Regions from separate parts of the Homo sapiens genome. Here region 1 is linked to region 2. The links are contacts of gene promoters, found by promoter capture Hi-C in blood cells and fetal thymus (Javierre and others, 2016). All regions are on one chromosome and are shown on one strand. The core of a region is centred on a gene start or on the middle of the fragment in contact, and the rest is flanking DNA. Distances in the headings are between cores, read along the strand shown. Region 1 has its middle 110 kb from the start of CFAP95. Region 2 holds the start of APBA1 (amyloid beta precursor protein binding family A member 1).

Region 1 (6,599 bases), core at 2,178-4,677, 260 kb before region 2:
TCTAGACAGACTAAAGGACCAAATGAGACAATATGCAGGCCTAAATTTAGAAGATCCCCTTGGACAGGGAATGTTAAAGCTCCATTTTGTCACTAAAAGTTAGCCAGATATTTCGTTACAAAAATTAGAAAATTGGGAAAACCAACCTCTGAGTGAACTCCTTAGGGAAGCTCCAAAAGTGTACGTAAAGAGAGACAAAGAAAAGCAAAAACAAAAGGCAAAACTCATGTTATACACTTTCCAGCAGGTGGCTCCAAACCCACACATTTCTAAATATAGCTTCCAGGGGGCCAGAAACTATAAAGGGTCCAGATCTCTGTTTAAAGGACACAAGCCTCCATCTAGAGGACCCCGCCCCTCATCTACCAGACCATCTAAAAAATATGGGGGAGCAAAGCTAAAGAATCCCAGGATTGAGACAGTGGAGAGACAGGATAGGTACTACAAATGTGGAACAGCAGGCCACTTCAAGAGAGAATGTCCTGAATTGCAAAGGCAGAAAGAAGCCCTACCACTCATGACTTTTGAGGAAGAATAGGGGAGTCAGGGGCTCTGTCTCTTTTGCTTCGAATCCCACCAGGAGCCCTTGATAAATTTAGAGGTGGGACCCAAACAGGAGCCTATCACCTTTTTAGTCAATTTAGGAGTGGCTCACTTCTCCATTTGTTTCCCTCCACCTAACATTGCCTGCTCTTCAGAAGAACTTTTAGTCTCTGGGATAAAAGGAGAAGGATTTAAGGCAAAAATCTTAGAAAGTACAGAAGTTAAATACCAAGATTGATTGACTCATATCCAATTTTTATTGATCCCTGAGGCAGGAACTAATCTATTGGGAAGAGACTTAATGCTAAAATTAGGCATAGGCCTACAAGTTCACCCTAAAGGATTTCTTGCCTCATTAAACCTACTCACCACTGCAGATGAAAAATACAGTAATCCCAATGTCTGGTCAAGGGAGGGAAACCTAGGGAAACTCCAAATCCCTCCAAGCCACATCAAGCTAAAAACCCACTGGGGAAGTAGTGAGGAGGAAAAAAATACCCCATTCCCCTAGAGGGCAGAATAGGGTTAAAGCCTATAATTGAAAGTCTTATTAAAGATGGACTCCCTTGTACCCTGTATGTCCCCTTATAACACTCCAGTATTGCCAGTCAAGAAAGCAGATGGGACATACTGACTGGTGCAAGATCTTAAAGCCATCAGTCAAATAGTCCAGACTACCCATCCTGTTGTCCCCAACCCATACACCATTCTCAGCAAAATTCCATATAATCATCAGTGGTTTACAGTAATAGACTTAAAGGATGCCTTCTGGGCATGCCCCTTGGCTAAAGACAGCTGAGACACATTTGCTTTTGAGTGGGAGGACCCCCATTCAGGGCAAAAACAACAGTATCAATGGAGTTCAAGGGTTCACAGACTCCCTAAACCTTTTTGGCCAAATCTAGAACAAGTGTCAGAAAAAGTTGTCATCCCAAAGTAGATATGCCTGGTCCAGTATGTGGGTGATATTCTTATATCTGGTGAAGATGTAAAAAAAGTAGCTGACTTCTCTACACATATTCTTAACCATCTGGAATTTGAGGGGCTATGGGTCTCAAAGGGAAAGCTTCAGTATGTGGAGACTGAAGTTAAATATTTAGGCCACTTTTATCAGTGGAGGTAAGTGAAGAATAGGGCCTGAGTGAGTTGAAGGCATCGTGTCCTTATCCCTGCCTCAAACTAAGCAAGGACTCAGAACATTTTTAGGATTAGTTGGATACTGCTGCTTATGGATTGACTCATATGCCCTAAAAAGTAAACTTTTATATGAAAAGCTTACCTAGTGGAAGCTGGACCATCTCCTGTGGACTTCTGAGGAAGCCGATCAGGTTTTTTAGCCTTACCTTCCCTAGAAAAGCCATTTCATCTTTTTGTTAACATAAATAACAGGGTAGCTTTAGGGGTGCTCACTCAAGAACCCAGTGGCCGCTGGCAGCCCATAGCCTTCCTATCAAAAGTTTTACACCCAATACCTGTAGATGGCCTCAATGTTTTCAATCTGTTGCAGCTACAGAAGTATTAGTTGAAGAAACCAGAAAATTAACCTTTGGGGGAAAATTAACTGTAAGCACACCCCACCAAGTTAGAGCTACTTTAAATAAAAAAGCAGGAAGGTGCTCACTGACTCCAGAATCTTGAAATACTGAAATTGAATCTTGAAAAATTAAAATATGAGGCTATTCTACTAGAAAAAAGATGAATTTAACCTTAACTACTGATAATTCACTCAACCCAGCAGGTTTCTTGACAGGAGACCCAAATCTAAAAAGAGAACACCTATGTTTAGATTTAATTGACTACCAAATGAAGGTCAGGCCAGATCTAGGAGAGACCCCTTTCAAAATGGGGCGATGCTTATTTATAGATGGTTCCTCCCAAGTAATTAAAGGAGAAAGGCATAATGGGTATTCAGTAATTGATAGAGAAACTCTTGAAGAAATAGAGTCAGGAAGGTTGCCCAATAGTTGATCTGCCCAAGTTTGTGAACCATTTGCCCTCAGCCAGGCTTTAAAACACTTACAGAACAAGGAAGAAACTATTTATACTGATTCTAAGTATGCCTTTGGAGTAGCACATACATTTGGAAAAATTTGGCCTGAGAAACCTCTTATTAATTTTAAAGGCCAAAATCTTGCCCATGAAGAGCTAATCATCCATGTTTTAAACAATCTCCAGTTGCCAGAAGAAATAGCCATTGTACATGTCCCCAGACACTAAAAAGACTTTTCCTTTACAAGTTGGGGAAATAACCTTGCAAATCAAGCAGCTAAGCAGGCTGCTGTTTCATCTGAAACACCTATCTTTCACTTAACTCCTTGTCTTCCTCCCCCTGCTGCAACCTCTATCTTCTCTGCTGCAGAAAAGGAAAAATTAATAAGAATAGGAGCCAAAGAAAACTCAGAAGGAAAATGGGTGTTACCAGATCAATGAGAAATACTATCCAAACTCGTCATGAAGGAAATCCTGTCCCATCTGCATCAAGGGACCCACTGGGGACCCCAAGCTATGTGTGATGCAGTTCTCAGGGTTTATGGGTGTTCAGGAACTTATACTGTAGCCAAACAGATTAAAGATAGTTGCTTCATATGTAAAAAAAAAAAACCCAACAAACAAGTTACAAAGAAATCGCCCCTTGCGGGGAGGGATCCAGGGCTAAGACCATTCCAAAGTGTTCAAATTGACTACACTGAAATGCCCCCAATCGGTCGCCTAAAGTACTTATTAGTAACAGCAGATCACCTTACTCATTGAGTTGAAGCTATTCCCTTTTCAAATGCAATGGCCAATAATGTAGTTAAAGCATTAACTGAAAAGATAGTGCCCAGGTTTGGACCAATAGAAAATATTGATTCAGACAATGGAACCCATTTCATAGCACATATCATTAAAAAGCTATCCCAAGCCCTAGACATTAGATGGGAATATCATACTCCTTGGCACCCACCTTCCTCAAGAAGAATAGAAAGGATGAATTAGACCTTAAAGAACCACATAACCAAATTAGTTCTAGAGACTCAGTTGCCATGGACCAAATGTCTTCTTATTGCCTTTTAAGAATCTGAGCTGCTCCTTGGAAAGATATTGGCCTTTCTCCTTATGAGATGCTCTAATTGCCTTATTTACACTCCACTGCTGGCATTCCTACATTTGAAACAAAAGATCAATTCCTCAGGAATTATATACTTGGTCTCTCCTCTACTTTCTCTTTTTTTAAAAACCAAAGGTCTCCTAGCACAGGCGCCGCCCCTGGAGTTCCCAGTACATCAACATCAGCCTGGGGATCATGTCCTCATCAAAAGCTAGAAAGAAGAAAAACTTGAGCTGTCCTGGGAAGGACTTCACCTAAGTGCTTCTAACCACTGGAACCACAGTCCTGATAGCAGAAAAAGGATGGACCCATCACACCTGAGTCAAGAAAGCACCACCACCTCCGCAGTCATGGGCCATTGTCCCAGGGGAAAACCCCCTCAAACTAAAGCTAAGTTTAACTCTCTTTCATCTATTCTATTACTCTTTCTTCTTTTCTCATTCTATTGCTGACCACCTTGTTATCAATGTAACTAAATCAAACTCCCCCAAAGTTATTACGTTTGATGCTTGTTTAGTCATACCCTGTAGAGATCTTCAAAGTCAAAGGAAACTCTTAGCCTTAGAAAAGTATCTCTGCCCCTTTAAAATAGAGGTTCCCCCTACCAAGACTCTTGCTCTTTAACAAATATAGAGAAACAGGTCTGCCATAGCAGGAATGATGTTCTGTGGACAACCAAATATCAAGGCTAGACCTCATTGACAGGTGGTTGTGTATCCTTAAAACCATACATTCACTTTACTAAAGAAAGCACCTCCAACCCCAATTGCCAGTATAACCAATGTAATCCAGTGCAAATTTCAATTCTCACTTCCACCTCTACCGACCCTAGACCTACTTTGAGCCGCTTCTACAGCATGGGAGCCAACTTGGCTGGCACAGACCTCATAGGGACTTTTGAAATGCATTTTATTAATCCCTCATCCTCTTCACCCCCTTTCCTCTCTTCTCCTTCTAAGCCTTCTTCTAATCAAACTGCTATCCCCTCTATACCCAATGATAAGACTAAGGTAGATATTGTAGAAGTAAATGATTTAAGGCAAACTTTAGCAATTGAAACAGGATATCAAGATGCAAATTCCTGGTTGGAATGGATCAAATATTCTGTCCACATGTTAAACAAAAGCAATTGTTATGCTTGTGTGCACGGCCAGCCAGAGGCCCAGATTGTCCTCTTTCCACTTGGATGGTCCGCTAGTCAACCAGGCATGGGCTGCATGATAGCTCTCTTCCAGGATTCTACAGCTTGGGACAATAAATAATGCCAAGCTCTCTTTCTGCTCTATCCTGAAATCCAACACCCTGCGGGTCAGCCCCCGAAGGCCATCCAGCTTCCATCTCCCAACGTCAATTTCACCTTGTGTCTCTCACAACAAGGGGAAAACTTGGCATTCCTTGGAAGCTTAACAGGATGCAGTGAGCTTAAGCCCTTCTAGAAGCTTACCCATCAGTCTGCCCTTAGCCATCCTCGAGCAGATGTGTGGTGGTATTGTGGCAGACCCTTACTGGACACTCTGTCAAGTAACTGGAGTGGTACTTATGCTCTTGTCTAATTGGCTATCCCTTTCACCCTGGCATTTCATCAACCAGAAAAAGAAAAAATGCAACACCATAAAATAAGAGAAGCCCCTTATGGGTCTTTTGACTCTCAAGTTTATTTAGATGCAATTAGAGTCCCACGGGGAGTACCTGATAAATTCAAAGCCCAGACCAAATAGCTGCAGGATTTGAATCAGTATTTCCATGAGTAACTATTAATAAAAATGTAAATTGGATAAATTACATCTATTATAAACAGCAATGATTTATTAATTACACTAGAGATGCCATCAAAGTAATAGCTGACCAGTTAGGGCCTACTAGCCAGATGGTTTGGGAAAACAGAATGGCCCTAGACATGATGTTAGCTGAAAAAGGTGGAGTTTGCATTATAATTAAAACTCAATGTTGTACCTTCATCCCAAACAATACTGCCCCCAATGGGAACATAACAAGGCCTTACAGAGACTTACCTCTTTATCCAATGAATTAGCTAAAAATTCTAGAGTTGATAACCCTTTCTAAGCATGGCTAGCTAGAAAGGTGATTTGGTAAATGGAAAGGAATCACAGCCTCAGTGCTTACTTCTCTTGCAGCCATAATAGGTGTACTCATTCTTGTTGGGTGTTGTGTCATACCATGCATCCATGGGCTAGTACAAAGGCTTATAGAAACAGTACTTACTAAAGCCTCCCTTAGCTCTCCTCCACCTTATTCAGATAAGTTGTTCCTTTTAGAGGATGAAGTCGAACAGCAAAGCCAAGACATCTTAAAAAGGTCTGAAGAGGAAGGACTATAAAAATTAAGAGGGGGGAAATTGTAGGATACAATAAATTTATTCCTCTTCACATGTTTAGCTTGTTAACTTCCTTGTTCTTTGTTCTCAAACTCAACTTTCTTGTTCTCCATGCCTCCTTGTCCCTAGTTACTGTAAACAACCTTCCCGTCAGTTCTAATCAATAACTTCACATCTGTTCCCTTGGCTACCTGCTCTACACCAATTCCTCCCACTGAAACTGCATGTCCTACCACTGTACCTCACATTCCCCTTCCCTTCCTTATTTGGGAAAATATTCACAAATAGCCCATCAGGTCAGTTTAGATTGTGCAGTCTGACCCCAGCCCATGGGGGAGTGACACAGATGTAGGGATTGCATTACGAATAAAAACCCCTGCTTTCCTTTATTCAGTGTGCTCTTGCAATTGTGATTGATGCGAGTAGCACCCTTCTGCAGAAGTAAGTTGCCTTGCTGCAAAAACTTTTGCCTGAGTGCTGGTTTCACTTTGCGGCACCGAGCATTTATCTCCAACATTTTTGGTGGCTATTTTGAAATACTTTCCTGTTAAATATGACATCTGGTTGCTCTCATAGGCAGTTTGTGTTGCCTGCTTTTTTCCTGCGTATGGATCATGCTTTCCTGTTTCTTTG
Region 2 (5,721 bases), core at 1,998-4,497:
ATTCGCCACCATGCCCACTAATTTTTTTTTTTTTTTGAGAGACGGGGGTCTTACTATGTTGCCCAAGCTGGTCTTGAACTCCCCAGCAATCCTCCCACGTTGGCCTCCCAAAGTGCTGGGATTACAGGCATGAGCCACCATGCCTGGCTGCCAGTATTTTATATACTGCTTCCTGAAACACTTGAATAGCAGTTTCGACCCTGTTAACAGGAGAAGGTGGATTGGAGTGGTGGATTGGAGTGCCTTATAAGAGATCTACTAAAAAGAAAAACATCAATAAAGCAGGCACAGGAAATCTATAAATAGAATAGAACAAGACCAAAGGAGGGATTAAGACATGGATCTACATGCCATATGGATCCACTCATTTCCTACAATGATCTGAAAATTTGGCTTTGAGTTTCCTGCCAGCGAAGGCACAGAGTAACAAGAGCACTTAAGACAATGATTCATGCTATCCAGAAGAAATAGGAATATGTGTTTTTCATGGGGGTGGGGGAGGGAGGGAAATTTCCACATATGAACATTTGGTAAGTAATTAGTTTTGGAGGTCTCTAAGCTACCATTATAACTAACAATTATTACCTTTCTTTATATGGCACTGAATACTTTGCAGAGAAATTTCACATAACTTTCTTTACACAAAAATCCTGCGAGGTAAGATTCCAGGATATTATTAAAGCAATAATGTAACCCTTATTCATGCATCTAAGAACCTAGTCTAACTGGAAAGGCAACACAAAAAGTAGAAAATAAGCAGAAAGATCTCTGAGATAGCAAACCAAATGGCAATAAGTGTATGCACAGAAAAGAGCCTCTCACTCAGAACCTATATTCTCTTATTTAACCTGAAATTCTAACAGGGTTCATTTCCTTCCTAAAACTGCAGTGGATTAAAAGTAACAAAACAGAAACTATTACAGAGAAGCACTCTGAAAGCCTCCTAGATGCGTACACAGGAGAGCAGAGGCAAGAACTAAAAACAATCAAAAGAGCAGTTAGTGCAAAAACAGAAAACCCTAAACACTCACTAAGTAGGATAAGCTCAGACTCTCTCCGCCCTGGATCCTGACCCTCCACGAATCAGTTCCTCACAAACCACCTCAGCCATCTTTCAGGAACGGAAATGTGATCCTGCTTGCCTGCTCCCAACTCTTGGCAACCCTTCATTGACTTTCCAGGCTCATAAGACAAAATCATTATTTAAAAACGGTCCACAAAGTCTGCCTGCCTCTCCAGTCTCATCTCACTTCGGCCCCACCTGCTTGGGCCTTTTCACATTTCCTTCCCTTTACCTGGAAGTGTCTCAATGCTGCCTCTCCTGGGGGATCTGAAATGTCATTTCCTTAGAAAGCCTTACCTAGTCCCAGAGTCCACATTAGGTTTTCCCGTGCACCTTAGCGCCTTTGCAGTTGAGAATTTATCACAGTTGCACTTAGTCTGATTGTTTTATTTGTTTGTTTGTTTTTTGAGACACCAAGGCTGGAGTGCAGTAGCGCGATCTCGGCTCACTGCAACCTCCGCCTCCCGGTTCAAGCATTCTCGTGCCTCAGCTTCCCGAGTAGCTAGGATTACAGGCGTGCACCAACACGCCCGGCTAATTTTTGTGTTTTTAGTAGAGACAGGGTTTCGCCATGTTGACCAGGCTGATCTCAAACTTTTGGCCTAAAGTGATCTGCTGGACTCAGCCTCCCAAAGTGCTGGGATTACAGGCGTGAGCCACCGCGCCTGGCCAGTCTGATAGTTGAATACCTATTTCCTTCAGCGTACTGTGAGCTCTGGTGGAAAAGGACCATGTCTGGCTCGTACATATGCCAAATAAGTATTCACCGGAAAAAATATGAGTAATGTCACAGGACAAGCAGACATCTTCCTAGTATATAATTTTAAATTTTACTAAAATCTTTTTGAGAAGGTAGCTATTGTTTTATTAAAGCAAAAAAAAATTACAAAGTACAATGCAAAATTCATATGAATTTTAAAGCTAAAACAAGACTTTCAGAATGCTTTAGGCTACACCCCCAGACTTCTCTAGAGACGTGCTTAAAATAATATGGAAACACGGTGTGGTAAAAGATCCATTTCCCAAGGGATCTGGATAACCAGCGCTTATCTTCATTTTACTGGAGAATACATGTGCGGAGAGGGCTTTGCAAACTACAAGGCTTTGTGCATTATAACATTATTATGGAAAAATCTGTGTTTCTAAGAGGGGGAATGATTTAGCTATTGCATTGCCAATTACAGGTGGGGCTGGCGCCAGAGCCCAGGCCTCCCGGGGCCTGTCTAGCCCACAGCTTTTCATTAATGCACAGCACTTGCCACCTGGTCCCTGCCGCAAAGGGTGGCCTCTCGAGTTAGGAGCCATATCTAGGGCGGATGGCCTGTGCTAGGCTCAAAGACACTTAAGTTCCGATCAACCAGAACTGAGGAGCGGGTAGGAAAACCAAGCCGAGCCTTCCTCGGCTTCACAATCCGCAGGCTCTCCGCTGTCCCCGGCGGGACTCGGCAGTTCCCCTGGAGGGCTGCAGCCCGGCTGTCTTCGCTCAGGCCCAAGCCCGCGCGGCTCTCCCCCTGGCGGAGAACTCGCAGGACTGCGACGCATTCCGGAGACGCCGTCAATCTCCGAATTTGAAGCGCAGGCGATATCTAAGGGGCCTGGGAAGCGGGAAAGCTCGGGAGTCACTCCGGAGAGAACACCCTGCAGGAGTCGACGCGGCTGCCTGGCTTCGTGGTCCTGCAGCGTGGCCCGTTGCTTCGCGCAGAGGTTGGCCACAGCTGCTGGCTAGGAAACTGGGGACCACCTGGGTTGCCACCGAGGAGGGTGGAGGCCCCCGTCAGTCCCCTCGGGGATGCAGCTGCATTTTCCCCTCCTTGCGTCCGGCCGGGAGCCAGAGGATGGGGCTGTGGAACCCATTCCGAAAGGCAGGGCGGGCCCTTCGGAACCCGGACGCGAGGGAAGGCGAGAGGCGCGGGTGTGCCGCACGCCCACCGGCGCCGGGGCAGGGGCGCTGCAGCCGGCGGCCCACGGAGGACATCAGCGGTGCCGCCGCCGCCGCCGCGGGCTCGCGGGCCGCGCGCGCACGCGAGTGGGCGAGGGAGGCAGGGGCGCTACTAGCAGGCGGCGTGCGCGCGCGCGCTCCCCCGCGCCCTCCCTCGCAGGCCCGCCCGGCCCCAGCGCGCGTCACGAGGGGCCAGCGAGCTAGCTGGAGGGCGGGAGGGAGGGTGGGGAAAGGGGGTGGGGCCGCGAGACCGGAGGGGTCCGAGCAGCGGCTGCGGAGCCGGAGCTGGGCGAGGGCGGCTGCGGTCCCGGCGGCGGCGGCGGCGGCGGCAGCTGCGGCGGGAGAAGATGGTGGCGCTGGAGGCAGCAGCGGCTGGAGCGGAGCTTTATTCCCAGGCTTGGCACCAGCGCTGTCACTAGCGCCGCCTGCTCCCGCGGGCCCGCGGACCCAGCTGTCAGGCAAGGTACCACAGCCAGGGAGGGGTGGGTGAGAAGGGGTGCCCGGCGCTGATGCGGCCCCCGACGGAGCCCGGGTCCTCGCCAAAGGGCGCCCCCGGACGCGAGAGGGGCTGCCTGGAACAATAGTGCGGAGGAGCGGAGGCAGCAGGCGACATCCAGGAGGCAGTGCCTGGAACCATCAGCTAGCGAGGCGGGGGAAGGCGGCGTTGCGAGCGAGACGCCTGGGGTCCGGTGCCCGCTGAGATGCCGGGCTTCGGGCGCAGCAGGCGGGCCTGATGACAGTCATGGCAGGAGTGAGTGTGTGAGAGTGTGTGTGTAAAAGGTACAGCAGAGGGGATGGGGTGGCGGACGGAGGTGTTGGGGGGTGACATTTCCAGGAATCCCCGCTAGGACCCCCTCATCTCTCGGCTGACTCTCCTGGAGAAAGAATGTGATGATGGAAACGGTGAGGTGGGCAGGATGCACTTGGTGTGTGAAGTGTGGAGGGAGGCAGTGGGATAGGGGCCGGTTTGTAAAATCCTGTATATGTGTGTGTACGCGTGTGGTTGCATCCACGTTCCCCAAACTGCGCCCCAAATCCAGAGATCTGCCGCTGCCCTTACTTGATGTCACCGGCTAAGACTGTGGGACAGTGTTTGTTATTTTGACCCTGCAACTCTGAGCACAGTGTCTGTTCTGCTCCTGCGTGTGGATGGCCCAGTGTAGGGATTCTCGCTTCCCCTTCCTCTGGCCTCATGACATGGGGATGTGGAAGTGAGCATGTTGCTTTGAGGCACATGGCAGGGAAATAGGATAACCGTTACACATTCTGGGCTTGCTAATGTACCTGGTTTTGAAGGGGCCTTCCATCCTGTGATACTACTTCTCTCCTTAGCACCTGTTCCATAAGGGTCTTGTACTCCCTGACTGTGCAGTTTCTATTGTTTTTCTCTTGTCTGACCAGAAGGAGAAGGATGTTGAATGATCAGATTCCTCTTCCTGTCCCCACAACTTTCAATGCTAGCTAGACCTTCTCCTTCCACATTTAAGCACTGAAAACCTTATGGCTAGAGGATGGATGGTCTTTGTGTTGGTTCTTTTAGAATGAACTCTGGAGGTGTATACGTATAGAGAGATGCGGTGGGGCGGGGGGCGGTCTTTTAAAAAGAAGAAAAATATCACACGGAGAAATGTTTGGTGCCCACTTGGTCAGCATCACACAGCCAGGGCGTTTTCCTCAGGAAACAGGATACTTTATTTCTACTGCTGGTGACATCCACTCTCCCAGCTGTCACAATAGCTAGGTGGTGCCGTGTATCATTTGGAAACTGAAATCTCCTGAGACCCACAGCGATGGGGTCCCAGGTCAGTAAAGTCCCTGCTTTCCTACCTGATAGAGCCCACTAGTAGGGAATTTGGAAAAATGTCAGGCTGGCAACAACTCACCCAGTGGGAACAAGGACACAGAAATGCATCCAGAGTCTATGGCTGTTTAATTGTCTCTGCGTGGTAAAGATAGGTGTGTGTAGGTAGGGTTGGGTAGAGGTAGGCAGGGAGATGGCATATTCATGTGTATCCAGGGCAGTGTGATTCCCCCTCACCTATGTTTCTCCTGCGGTATTCATAGGAATGAGTGCACTTTACACTTAATATCTCGACACTTCTTTATTAAAATGTTGTATGACTAGCTTAATCTGCTTAGGACATGTTTTAGTCATAACACCTTAAATTCTACTGCATTGTCGGAATCCAAACTGGCTGCCCGGTTCTCTTCGAAAAGCCCGTAGCAGTCATGGCTACACAAGTAAATATACAACATGTTGGCACCAGAGATTTATTTTTCTTTTTTAAAATTTTTGTTTTGCTTTCTTTTATGGGCAAAGATTGCATGATATCGTTGTGAAAATAATAAAACTAGGGCTATCCACATATGCTTTTTTTTCTTCCCATGTATCTTATTTAATGATATATAGACAAGGTGCTCTTGAAGCTGTCTATGTAAAGTAAATTTCCCCATGTTCTTCAAGTCAAGCCTTCTAAGATTTTAATGTGAGGTTGGTTGTTGGCTGTCATCCAAGATTTAAGGATAGATTTATAAAAATGAATTTTGAATCTTAGTTCTTTACTCTCTTATTTGTTATGCCAAATGTCTTTCTGAGAAAAGTACTTAGGGAATTTAAAAGCCATTCTAAGAGATTTTGGTTTAAAAAAAAGTCATCATCCTTTATATTTGCAAGTAAGACCAGGGATGTAAATGTCTCACAAGAAAGTTTAATAATATG

What was found. Contacts are between HindIII fragments. The CHiCAGO score rates a contact against its expected background, and 5 or more counts as called.
Region 1: a fragment that was not itself captured here is called in contact with the fragment with the promoter of APBA1 in region 2 in 1 of 17 cell types (endothelial precursors); the score reaches 6.9 in endothelial precursors.

The regions. Positions count from the first base shown.
Region 1 is chr9:69,925,199-69,931,797 of GRCh38, reverse strand. No RefSeq gene overlaps it. Among named protein-coding and RNA genes, the nearest start is that of CFAP95, 110 kb to the right of the region's middle. The HindIII fragment of the contact is 3,216 bases long and covers 1,820-5,035 here.
Region 2 is chr9:69,669,897-69,675,617 of GRCh38, reverse strand. It overlaps APBA1 (amyloid beta precursor protein binding family A member 1), which reads left to right and starts at 3,247. Exons shown (of 13, transcript NM_001163.4): 1 at 3,247-3,465. RefSeq lists silencers at 3,170-3,219, 3,400-3,479. The HindIII fragment of the contact is 15,920 bases long and covers 1-5,721 here.